Regions from separate parts of the Homo sapiens genome. Here region 2 is linked to region 1. The links are contacts of gene promoters, found by promoter capture Hi-C in blood cells and fetal thymus (Javierre and others, 2016). All regions are on one chromosome and are shown on one strand. The core of a region is centred on a gene start or on the middle of the fragment in contact, and the rest is flanking DNA. Distances in the headings are between cores, read along the strand shown. Region 1 holds the start of FAM131A (family with sequence similarity 131 member A). Region 2 overlaps LINC02069 (long intergenic non-protein coding RNA 2069).

What was found. Contacts are between HindIII fragments. The CHiCAGO score rates a contact against its expected background, and 5 or more counts as called.
Region 2: a contact is called between a fragment that was not itself captured here and the fragment with the promoter of FAM131A in region 1, in 2 of 17 cell types (M1 macrophages and M0 macrophages). The highest score is 5.4, in M1 macrophages.

Annotation. Positions count from the first base shown.
Region 1 is chr3:184,334,065-184,339,098 of GRCh38, forward strand. It overlaps FAM131A (family with sequence similarity 131 member A), which reads left to right and starts at 3,536. Exons shown (of 6, transcript NM_144635.5): 1 at 3,536-3,654; 2 at 4,323-4,465. The coding sequence starts at 3,567. EIF4G1 (eukaryotic translation initiation factor 4 gamma 1) reads left to right here. Exons shown (of 33, transcript NM_198241.3): 33 at 663-1,289. The coding sequence ends at 844. RefSeq lists enhancers at 620-769, 4,078-4,689 and silencers at 1,740-2,169, 2,086-2,286, 2,210-2,279. The HindIII fragment of the contact is 18,780 bases long and covers 1-5,034 here.
Region 2 is chr3:184,764,450-184,769,854 of GRCh38, forward strand. It overlaps LINC02069 (long intergenic non-protein coding RNA 2069), which reads right to left. Exons shown (of 3, transcript NR_110043.1): 2 at 871-1,020. Among named protein-coding and RNA genes, the nearest start is that of LINC02069, 6.0 kb to the right of the region's middle. The HindIII fragment of the contact is 894 bases long and covers 2,283-3,176 here.

The DNA.
Region 1 (5,034 bases), core at 2,286-4,785:
GGTGCCTTGTGGGCACTGGGGTCGGTTGTGTTTCAGGGGTTATAGGACACGTTGCTTGGGAAGGCTACCCAGCAGCTAGGGGTTGAGGAGAAAGAGGGCCCGAACAGGTGATGCTTGAGTTGAGTCCTGAAGGAACAAGACACGAGGAAGTTTCCGGCAAAGGATATAGCATCCACAAAAGTGTCAAGGCCAGAGAAGGTGTGTATGTACAGGAAATGTGTGGGGAAGGAAGGGAAATTGAGATCAGGAGTTGTCAGGATCTGTTTGGGGGGCAGTGAATGTTCAGGTTACATGTAGGATATATATAGGACTTTATGTATGATATATATAGGACTTTTAGCGATTTCCTGAATTCAGGAGTACCAATTCTGAATATAGTTTTCTCCATTAAATACATCATGGGCAGAGAGGTTTCAGGCTGCCAAGGTGAGGCCAAGCAAGTTTGTAAGGTTTTTCTGATGGCCAAGTGACTCATTGCTGTGCAGCAGTCTCAGATCATGAGATTAGCATCCTGTCAGAGGCCTAGTCACTCTGGAATGGCCACAAATGTCAGGCTGGTGCATCAGGGCCTTGTTTGAACAGTGGAACTTGGGAGGGTTCCCTGGGGTGGGCTGGGGTGGCGGTGGCCAGTCACCTCTAACTGCTGTCCCGCCTGCTTGCAGACCTGCTGCGGATGTTCTTTGACGCACTGTATGACGAGGACGTGGTGAAGGAGGATGCCTTCTACAGTTGGGAGAGTAGCAAGGACCCCGCTGAGCAGCAGGGCAAGGGTGTGGCCCTTAAATCTGTCACAGCCTTCTTCAAGTGGCTCCGTGAAGCAGAGGAGGAGTCTGACCACAACTGAGGGCTGGTGGGGCCGGGGACCTGGAGCCCCATGGACACACAGATGGCCCGGCTAGCCGCCTGGACTGCAGGGGGGCGGCAGCAGCGGCGGTGGCAGTGGGTGCCTGTAGTGTGATGTGTCTGAACTAATAAAGTGGCTGAAGAGGCAGGATGGCTTGGGGCTGCCTGGGCCCCCCTCCAGGATGCCGCCAGGTGTCCCTCTCCTCCCCCTGGGGCACAGAGATATATTATATATAAAGTCTTGAAATTTGGTGTGTCTTGGGGTGGGGAGGGGCACCAACGCCTGCCCCTGGGGTCCTTTTTTTTATTTTCTGAAAATCACTCTCGGGACTGCCGTCCTCGCTGCTGGGGGCATATGCCCCAGCCCCTGTACCACCCCTGCTGTTGCCTGGGCAGGGGGAAGGGGGGGCACGGTGCCTGTAATTATTAAACATGAATTCAATTAAGCTCACTGCCTTTCTGCTTTATGCCCTGCTCCCTCTAGAGAAGGTGTTTATAGGTGGGGATCCTTCCCAGAGCTGGTACTGTAGCGCTGTTCCCTGTAACCTGGCACCCCTCCTGCCTCTTCCCCTGTCCATGATTGCAGGGATCTGAGGTTTCCTGGAAGGTTGGGCCCTCAGATGGGCTTGATAGGTGCCTTCCTGGTCCGGAGAAAAGGGAGATTAGTGATAGGACATCCTTGCTAGGCTCTGCTCTCCTACCAGAATGATTCAAGCCCCTGTGTGGGGAAGGCTTTTGGGTTTCGGGTTGTTTATAGCTGGAGAATCCCTTTATGGCTTGAAGGTGTCATCTGTAAAATGAAGGGGCTGGATGCATGAAGGGAGGTTTTGCGACCCCGTGTAGTGTGACTGGGCTGGCTTAGTGAGTGTTCGCCGCCCCTGCCTTCAGGTGGCAGTCGGCTCTGGGAGGAGAGGACCGGCATTTTCGAACCCGGTCCAGGCCGCCTCTGCGTGGCTGTGACGTCGCTGCGCCCCGCCTACTTTGGGTGGTGACGCGGCGGTCACGCCCCCGCGCTTACGTCACCGGCCCGGTTCCCTCTCCGGGGAGCGGCGGCGGACGCGCGGCTCCCACCCCTCCCCTCTCACGGGCTCTCCCCTCCCCAGTGTGGCCGCGACCCTACCCTCTGCAAGGCGATGGCCCGCGCCCCGAGCGCAGGCTAGCGTGCCTGGGTGCCCGGCCATGGGCTGTATCGGCTCTCGGAGCCCGGCGGGTCAGGGTAAGAGGCGGAGGCCGGGTACGGGTTGGGGAGTCGGGCTGCGGCCGCCGGTGCGCGGGCCGCGGGTGGGTGGGGGCCTTGAGGAGGGGGCCGGTGTCGGGAGAGGGAGGAGCCTGCACCGGGAGGCGGGCCAGGCAACAGGAGGGAGCGGGAATGAGCAGGGAAGGGGCCAGACCGACTCCGGTTCGCTCCCACGGCCTGCCTGCCTTGGGGTTTTGCAGGGCAGACGCATGGTCTCGCCGCTGGCTGCCGTGTGCCCACTGCTCAGGGTGGCCGGAGACGCACAGCCCCGGGAGGGGCTGGGCAGCCCGATGCCCCCACCACTCCAGCCCTCGGCGACTGGCCTTGCGCGCCCACACACACACTCCCCTCCGCCTACACCTCTGCCTTCACAGTCCTGGGAGTGGCCCTGTGCTGGGAACCTGCTTCTCCCAGCCGTGTCCCCATCTTCTTAAAGAGGTAGCCTTTCGGTCCTGGCTAAGCACCCTACCACAGAATTTTTGTCGGACATTGACTCCCCTCTTCAGTCAGTCGGCGAAGGGGGACTGAGGTCCCGTTTGGGGCACCTGTGAACACTGAATCACCTCTCACCTATTACAGTTGTTTTAATGTCCTGCCCCCACTCAGCAAAAACAAATCACTCTACTCTGTGGAGGGAAAGAGGAACCCAGAGGCAGGCCATCAGGGCTTCCTTCCCACAGTGCTGACCCCTGCCTGGGCCTCGGTTTCCGTGGGTGGCCATGCACACCGGGCCTGGCCGTAGTCCTGTGCATCAGAGGTCGGCCAGCTTCCTTTACTCCGGTGTGGTGGATTTCTCCACGCATAAGGCAAGGCAGGACTGGGTTTGGGATGGGTCCTGGACCTTCAGGGCAGGTGGTCAGTCACACAGGCCTTGGTGTGGTTGGTACTTGATGTTCTTTGGAGCTAAGACTGGCTGAGATTTGTACTTCCCTTGAGGAATTCTGGGATTTGTAGTCCTAAGTTAACCTCGTGGCTTTTGAAGCTGAGGAGCAGCTGACTGCTCTGATCTCTCTGGCCCTATCAAGGCTTGGAGTTCAGGAAGTCATCACCTTCTCTTGTCAGGGGTGAGTTTGGCTGACCTCAGGACTGGCCTCGAGAGCCCTGGTTAGGTACCAGTTGGGGGCCAGGGATGGCCTGTAACCTCCTGTTTTCCTTCTGGTTGGTAGCATTTCTGGGGACCAACAGCTGGCCGAGGCTCAGGGATAGAGACGGCTGCTCCAGCTAAAGGTCAGTTGTGATGTACATTGCCTGTTGGCACTGTCTAGGGAATGGGCCTCAGCTCCCCGAGTCCCAGAGAGCTTGGCTGAGCCCTGGTGTTCCCACCTCCTCAGAGCCATGAGGCAGGAATGTTCTCCTTATGTGACTAGGCACAGGTTCCAAATGGGGAGGGGACTGGCTCAGCATCCGGAGCCAAAACAGGAATAGAACTGGGAGCTGAGCCTGGAGCGGTTCTGGGCTTTTGGTTCTCTGCATCAACACAGCCAGCATGCCTATGATTTCTGTGCTGGGCAAAATGTTTCTGTGGCAGCGTGAAGGGCCTGGAGGACGATGGACTTGTCAGACAAGTCGCAGAGGTGAGACCAGGGATCATGGATGTGATCTGGGAGATGATGGGAAGCTGAGCAGTAGGGTGCTTAGGTGGAAAAGGAAAATTACTCTGGCTTAGATATTAAGAACCAGGCTGAAACAGGGAGAACCAGGCTGGGGCCAGACAGGGCATCAGGAAACGGCTTCAGGGGACAGGGGTGAAAATCAGAAAAAATATCATGAGTTCGTCAGAAAAGAAGAGTAAAGAGCTGTGGACCAGCTGAGGCTGGCGAGAGGAAAGAAGGCAGCAGGAAGAGAGAAGGAAGGCAACCCTCCTGCAAAGGGTCCAGGGTGGCGGTGGTGGGGGGGACAGTGATGGCGGAAGAACTCAGTGTGCTTTCCAAGAGGAATGGGTAGGCTGGGAAACGGGAAGGAGAGTCAGAATTTATCATTGTTTGGTTTCACCCTAGGGTTTTGAGGCAAAATTTATCCAGAGCAGGAAGGTGGCAAGTGGGCTGCCACAGAATGGCCCCAGGGGCCCGAGGGTCAGTGATGTGTGGGATGGGGGCTTTTAGAGTTGAGGAGAGCACTCAGTGGGCGCTGGTCTTCTGGAAGGTGGGGGAGGGGCCGAGAAATGATACGGCAATACTGGATGAAAATGGGGATCTCTGCAGAAGTAGGGGCACAGCTCAACAGCCTTTCCCCTTCCTCTCAGTGTCCTCGGACCCCGCTTGGGCTGTGGAGTGGATCGAACTTCCTCGGGGTCTCTCTCTATCCTCTTTGGGATCTGCTCGAACCCTCCGAGGCTGGAGCAGGTCCTCCCGCCCTTCCTCGGTGGACAGTCAGGACTTGCCAGAGGTGCTGGGCCCCTGGTGGTGGGGGGAAGGAGGACGTCATCCATATAAAGGGGATCTGCAGCCCCCACCCACGCCTGGCCAGCCAGCTTCTGGCTCCCTTTTCCGGCGGGCGGAGGCGCTATCCGGCGGCGGGCCGGGAGGCCGCCCCCGTGCCGGTCTGCTCTGCTCGGCGCTGTGCCAGCAGGCGGAGAGCTCGCGCCTTCCGCGCTGACGTCAGCGCATCCCGGGCCGTATCCCGGGAGACCCTGTTGCGTGGTGATGGGTTGCCAGGGAGACATACACCTTTTCTCTGGGCCTGGGCCGCAGCTGCGCGGAGCGCCGGGCACGGATGGCGGCGGCTGAGGGGAGCGAAGCGAGGGAGGGAGAGCAAGCTAAGAAACACCCAGCAGGTGCTCCCCCGCCTAGGCCTGGCTGGAGGCTACTGGCGCCACCCTGGGGGCCCTGTCAGCCAGGTACCCAAGGGGAGGGATCGAGGGTGGGCCTCAGGTCAAGGGGCAGTGTTGGCTGCCCTTGTGAGGGACGGGAACGTGATAGAAGAGAGCTGGGCAATGCCGGGGAGGGATGTGTGCC
Region 2 (5,405 bases), core at 1,480-3,979, 430 kb after region 1:
GGGGGAAGAAGGAACTTTGTACCAGAATACTAAGAGATACTTTAAACCTATGTTCAAGAGAATTCTCCCTACTTTGGAACTTTGGGTCTGGCTTCCTGGGATTCCCCCAACATCTCCCCTAACCACTCCAGAGCAGCCTCCAGTCGCCACCACCACCACCACCCTCAAGCCAGAAGTCATTTTTTTTTTTTTTTGAGACGGAGTCTCACTCTGTTGCCCAGGCTGGATTGCAATGGCGCGATCTTGGCTCACTGCAACCTCTGCCTCTCGGGTTCAAGGAATTCTCCTGCTTCAGCTTGCCGAGTAGCTGGGATCATAGGTGCCTGCCACCACGCCTGGCTAATTTTTTGTATTTTTAGTAGAGACAGGGTTTCACCATGTTGGCCAGGCTGGTCTCGAACCCCTGACCTCAGGTGATCTACCTGCCTTGGCCTCCCAAAGTTCTGGAATTACAGGTGTGAGCCACCGCGCCTGACCCAGAAATCATCTTAAAACATTCCCTCAACAACCCTTTACCTTGATACAACACCTCATAGTCACCAAAGCATTCTTACATCCTCAGCCCATGGGTTCCTCCTCCCCACATCAGCCCTGGAAGGCAGGCAGCTCAGAGATTATTAAACCATTTTACAGATGAGGAAAATGAGACAAGCTTAGTGATGTTTGCAAGCCACATGGTTGGTGAGTCACGTTGGCTGCACTGTTAGATTTCAAGGCAGTGAGACCAGAAGGTAGCCTCGTATGGGGAGGGGTGGGATCTGGGTTGAGGCAGCCAAGGATTTGCATGAATTGGATGAGAGATCCCAGCTCCTCTGTGTCCAGAAAGTTTCACCTTGAGTCACCTGCCTTTCCCTCCCCGGGACACCGCACCTTCCCAACAGAGCAGTGTTGAGTCAGCTCCCCTTTTTCTGCCTCTCCGAGGTACTCTCAGCCATGCCCTCCTTCTGGCTTTCGTAGGATCTGACTCAAGATCCACTTTAGGCAGGCAGTATCTGTGGAACCTTCTCGTGTAGGGCCCACCTGTAAACAAGAGGAGGTGTTTGGAAATTATTCATGAAAGAAGAACACCATGAACAGCATTTGACCTCTTCAGAGAAAAGAGATATGCAAGTTTATAGCGGTAGTGGCGATAGTAATATCCAATGACATAACAACTTCAACAATTACACTTGCATTTCTTCCAAAGAGCTTTAAGCATTTTCGAGTTTATTGGGCTATTTGATCTCATAAAAGTCCCACAAATGGGTAGTGCTGGTTATTATTATCATTTTATAGATGAGAAAACTGAGGCCCGGAAATATGTCAGTGATTGCCCAAGACCTCGCAGCGAGGGAGGAGGGAGGTAGGGCTGAGTCTGTTTCTTCACGTCTCCAGGTGTTTCGTGTGTGGGACTCCCTCTTGGTGTCTGAATTCCTGTGAAGTAAGGTGTGGACAGAGGAGGTGGCTGGTGGCAGGCTCAGAGGATTTTTCTGCACATGGTCACTGAGAGACAGTGAGTCAGGCACCCTTATTTTGAGTTCGGTTTCCTCTTTCACTTCCCCAAACAATTTCTGGAGATGGAGTTCACTTGGCACCCGTTCTCAGATGATGAGCTGGGGGTATGTGCACAGCTGCCCCTGAAGGTTTTCGTGGTAGTGGTGATCTGGAAGGGGTGGATGCTCACATTCTTATCCTGAGACTCCTCCTGTTCTCCTGGTCTACCAATCCCCTCTCCAGGAGGGGGGTCCTTGCTAGCTCTGTCTGTTACCACGGCCTCCTCACTGTTTTTCTGACCTCAGTATCTTTCCTTTTTTTTTTTTTTTTTTTTTTTTTTTGAGATGGAGTCTTGCTCTGTCTCCCAGGATGGAGTGCAGCACCGTGATCTCGGCTCACTAGAACTTCTGCCTCCTGGGTTCAAGCGATTCTCCTAGCTCAGCCTCCCGAATAGCTGGGACTACAGGTGTGTGCCACCACTCTCAGTTACCTTTTCTATTTTTAGTAGAGACAAGGTTTTGTCATGTTGGCCAGGCTGGTCTCGAACTCCTCACCTCATATGATCCACCCACCTTGGCCTCCCAAAGTGCTGGGATTACAGGCATGAGGCACCGCGTCTGGCCTGACCTCAGTATCTTTTTCATTCAATCATCTCCATGACTGACCTTCCAAAAGCTCTCCCTCCACCTCTCAGAAATTGTCAGTAGAATCTCATTACTTCTGGCCTCAGCTTGGCACTCAAGGCCCCACCCAGTCAAGTCACAAACTACCTTCCCACCCTTGGCTCCTCCCTCTCATCCTCCTCTTGAAGCTTTATCTTCAGTTAGACTGGAGGATTTGCCTAGACATGCTTTGTGTTTTCCCAACTCCACAGTTCCCTTGGCTTGGAAAGCCACTCCCACCCCTCTGCCTGCTGGATTTCTATGCAGCCTTCAAAGCCCATGACAAATGTCACCTCTCTCATGAAGCCCTCCTTGATTCCATCATTGGAAAATGAGCTTCTCCCTCCTGGGATGTCTCACAGCACCTGGCATACAGGTCTCCACACAAGCAGTTCTCTGTGTGTTGTGGCAGTGGTGTCAAGATTTGGATGTTTGTGAAACTACAAAGACTGCAGGATTCGGCAATACCACTTGTGGGCATGTGTGTGCGTGTGTGTGTCTGTACGTGTGTGTGTGTGTGCGTGTGTGTGTGTTGGTATGAGGAGTGAGCACAGCTACATAAACAATTGTATGTCAGAAAGGGATGAGACACTTACTAGGTTTAGAGTGTGTCAATCACTTCAGTTCTGCCAATGAACAGAGAGCCAGATGTCTCTCTCCAAGGATAGAGAACACTCACAATAAAGACTATAAACACACTTGGGGGAAGAAAGAATGGAGAGAGGGAGGAAATGAACAAGTATGTATGGCTCATTTACTATAGTCCAGGCGCTGCGTTGGAGAGGAAATTTCATGTGAGCAGTGTGCTCACTTAACCCTCACCGTAGCCGAGAGGTAGGAATCTGCCCCTGTTTTGTGGTTGAGTACTGCTTTGGGCCAGGTTCTCAAAACGCAGGCTCTGGGTGTGCGGGGTAACTGGGAGCACTCATGGGCTGTCGGCATGCAGGGTAACTGGGAGCACTCACGGAGCAGCCCCGCTGGGGAGTCATGAAGGCAGGCTGGCACAGGAAAGGCTGAACGGCAGCGAGGCTGGTGTGCTGAAGCTTGGGTGGCCCTTTTAAGATGTGCCCCCATTGAGGCGATGGGATCCTTGTGCCCTCTGGGAGGGGGAAACCCAGGCAAGACGGCTCCCTTCAGCCAAGGGTGGTTCCTGGGGGGGACAGCACCCACTACACGTACACTGTGGATTAGAGAAACGCGTGCCCCCGCCACATGCAGACTGTCAGCAAGTGGAAGGGGCAGGGATGGAACTCCCTTCCACTAAGGGGGCTTCACCAGATTCTCCTGTTTCAAGGAGAAATAGAGTTTGGAAACCTCTCATTTTATAAACGAGGACACTGAGGCACAAAGCAGGGTGGTTGGTGCCTTGCCTAAAGTCATACAGATTTCATGTAACAAATTGTGCTGGTTAGGTAGGGGAGGATGCAGAGCTCACAGCACAGGTGAATACCTCCATCGCAAAGGCTGAACCAAATGCCCCGTTAAATCAGGAGACCTGCCTCTTTCAGCTTTGTTTTCTGAAGAAATCCCTTCCCAGGGGTTGAAGCCCTCAGGCTGTGTCCCGAGGCCTGGTGTGGCCTTCAGTCCATCTCCAGAAGACAGCATAGGCCAGGCGCGGTGTTTCACGCCTGTAAGCCCAACACTTTGGGAGGCTGAGGAGGATCACCTGAGATCAGGAGTTCGAGACCAGCCTGGCCAACATGGTGAATCCCCGTCTGTGCTAAAAATACAAAAATTAGCTGGGCGTGTTGGCGGGTGCCTGTAATCCCAGCTATTTGGGAGGCTGAGGCAGGAGAATCGCTTGAACTCGGGAAGCGTGGGTTACAGTGAGCTAAGATCACACCACTGCACTCCAGCCTGGGCGACAAGAGCAAAACTCCATCTCAAAAAAAAAAGAAGAAGAAGAAGAAGTCAGCCTGGTCACTCTTTGCCCATTGTGCACTGTCAGCTATGAGCGGAAGTCTGCACCTAGAAAGCTCCCAGGAAAAGAATGCTCTTCCCTCTTTCTGAAAGATTTCAGGTAGTTCTGGTATCAAATAATAGCAATGAGAAAGGCAGGTGTGGACTCTTTTGTTACTGATATTTTCTGTTACTGTCTGATTCTTAGTCACATTTTGCTTTTATTTTTATTTTTTTGAGAAGGAGTCTCGCTCTATTGCCCAGGCTGGAGTGCAGTGGTGTTATCTTGGCTCACGGCAACCTCCACCTCCCGGGTTCAAGTGATTCTCCTGCCTCAGCCTCTTGAGTAGCTGGGACTACAGGCACCTGCCATCACATCCAGCTGATTTTTGTATTTTTAGTAGAGACGGGGTTTCACCATGTTGGCCAGGCTGGTCTCGAACTTCTGACCTCAAATGATCTGCCCATCTTGGCCTCCCAGAGTGCTGGGATTACAGGCATAAGCCACCGCGTCCGGCTCTTACTTGTACTTTGGAAACATTGGTAGTGGGATCCAAGTGTGATCTTTAAAATAGTTAACAATCAGGTAAACCCCCAGGACACCGGCGTGGATGCTGGCAGTATGCTGCACCAGCGCATGCCCACTGAACATTACACCTGCTGGGCCCTAGAGGACAAGGTTGTGGTTCTCCCTGAGTGCCGCATGCTGGGGAAGAACCCTGGGAAGGGATTTCTTCAGAAAACAAAGCTGAGAGAGGCAGATCTCTTGATTTAACGGGGCATTTGGTTCAGCCTTTGCGATGGAGGTATTCATCTGTGCTGTGAGCTCTGCATCCTCCCATACCTAGCCAGCACAATTTGTTACATGAAATCTGTATGACTTTAGGCAAGGCACCAACTACCCTGCTTTGTGCCTCAGTGTCCTCGTTTATAAAATGAGAGGTTTCCAAACTCTATTTCTCCTTGAAACAGGAGAATCTGGTGAAGCCCCCTTAGTGGAAGGGAGGCAAGTGGGCCGGGCGCAGGGCCCCCTCCCCTGCTTTAGCTGGAGCGGCTCTCTTGTATTTGTTTATGCCTCCATACGGTTTCACTTAAACCCAGCATTCCTCAACTAAAAACAAAGCTTGGGAAGCGCCGAGCTGCATGTGGTATCTGAGGGCCCCTACTCACGGCTCTGCCATGCTGAGCTGTGATTAGGCGAATGCGTGAGTGAACGAATGAATGAATGAACAGACTCTGTGTTCCTAGCTAACAGAGGCTGGTTCCTGGTCACACCTGTTCTTGGGACAGATGGCCAGCAGTCTTGGGTAGTTCAGAAATCTACACAGGGCTAGACTGGACGCTCTCCCGACATCCCATCAAGTGTAGGGT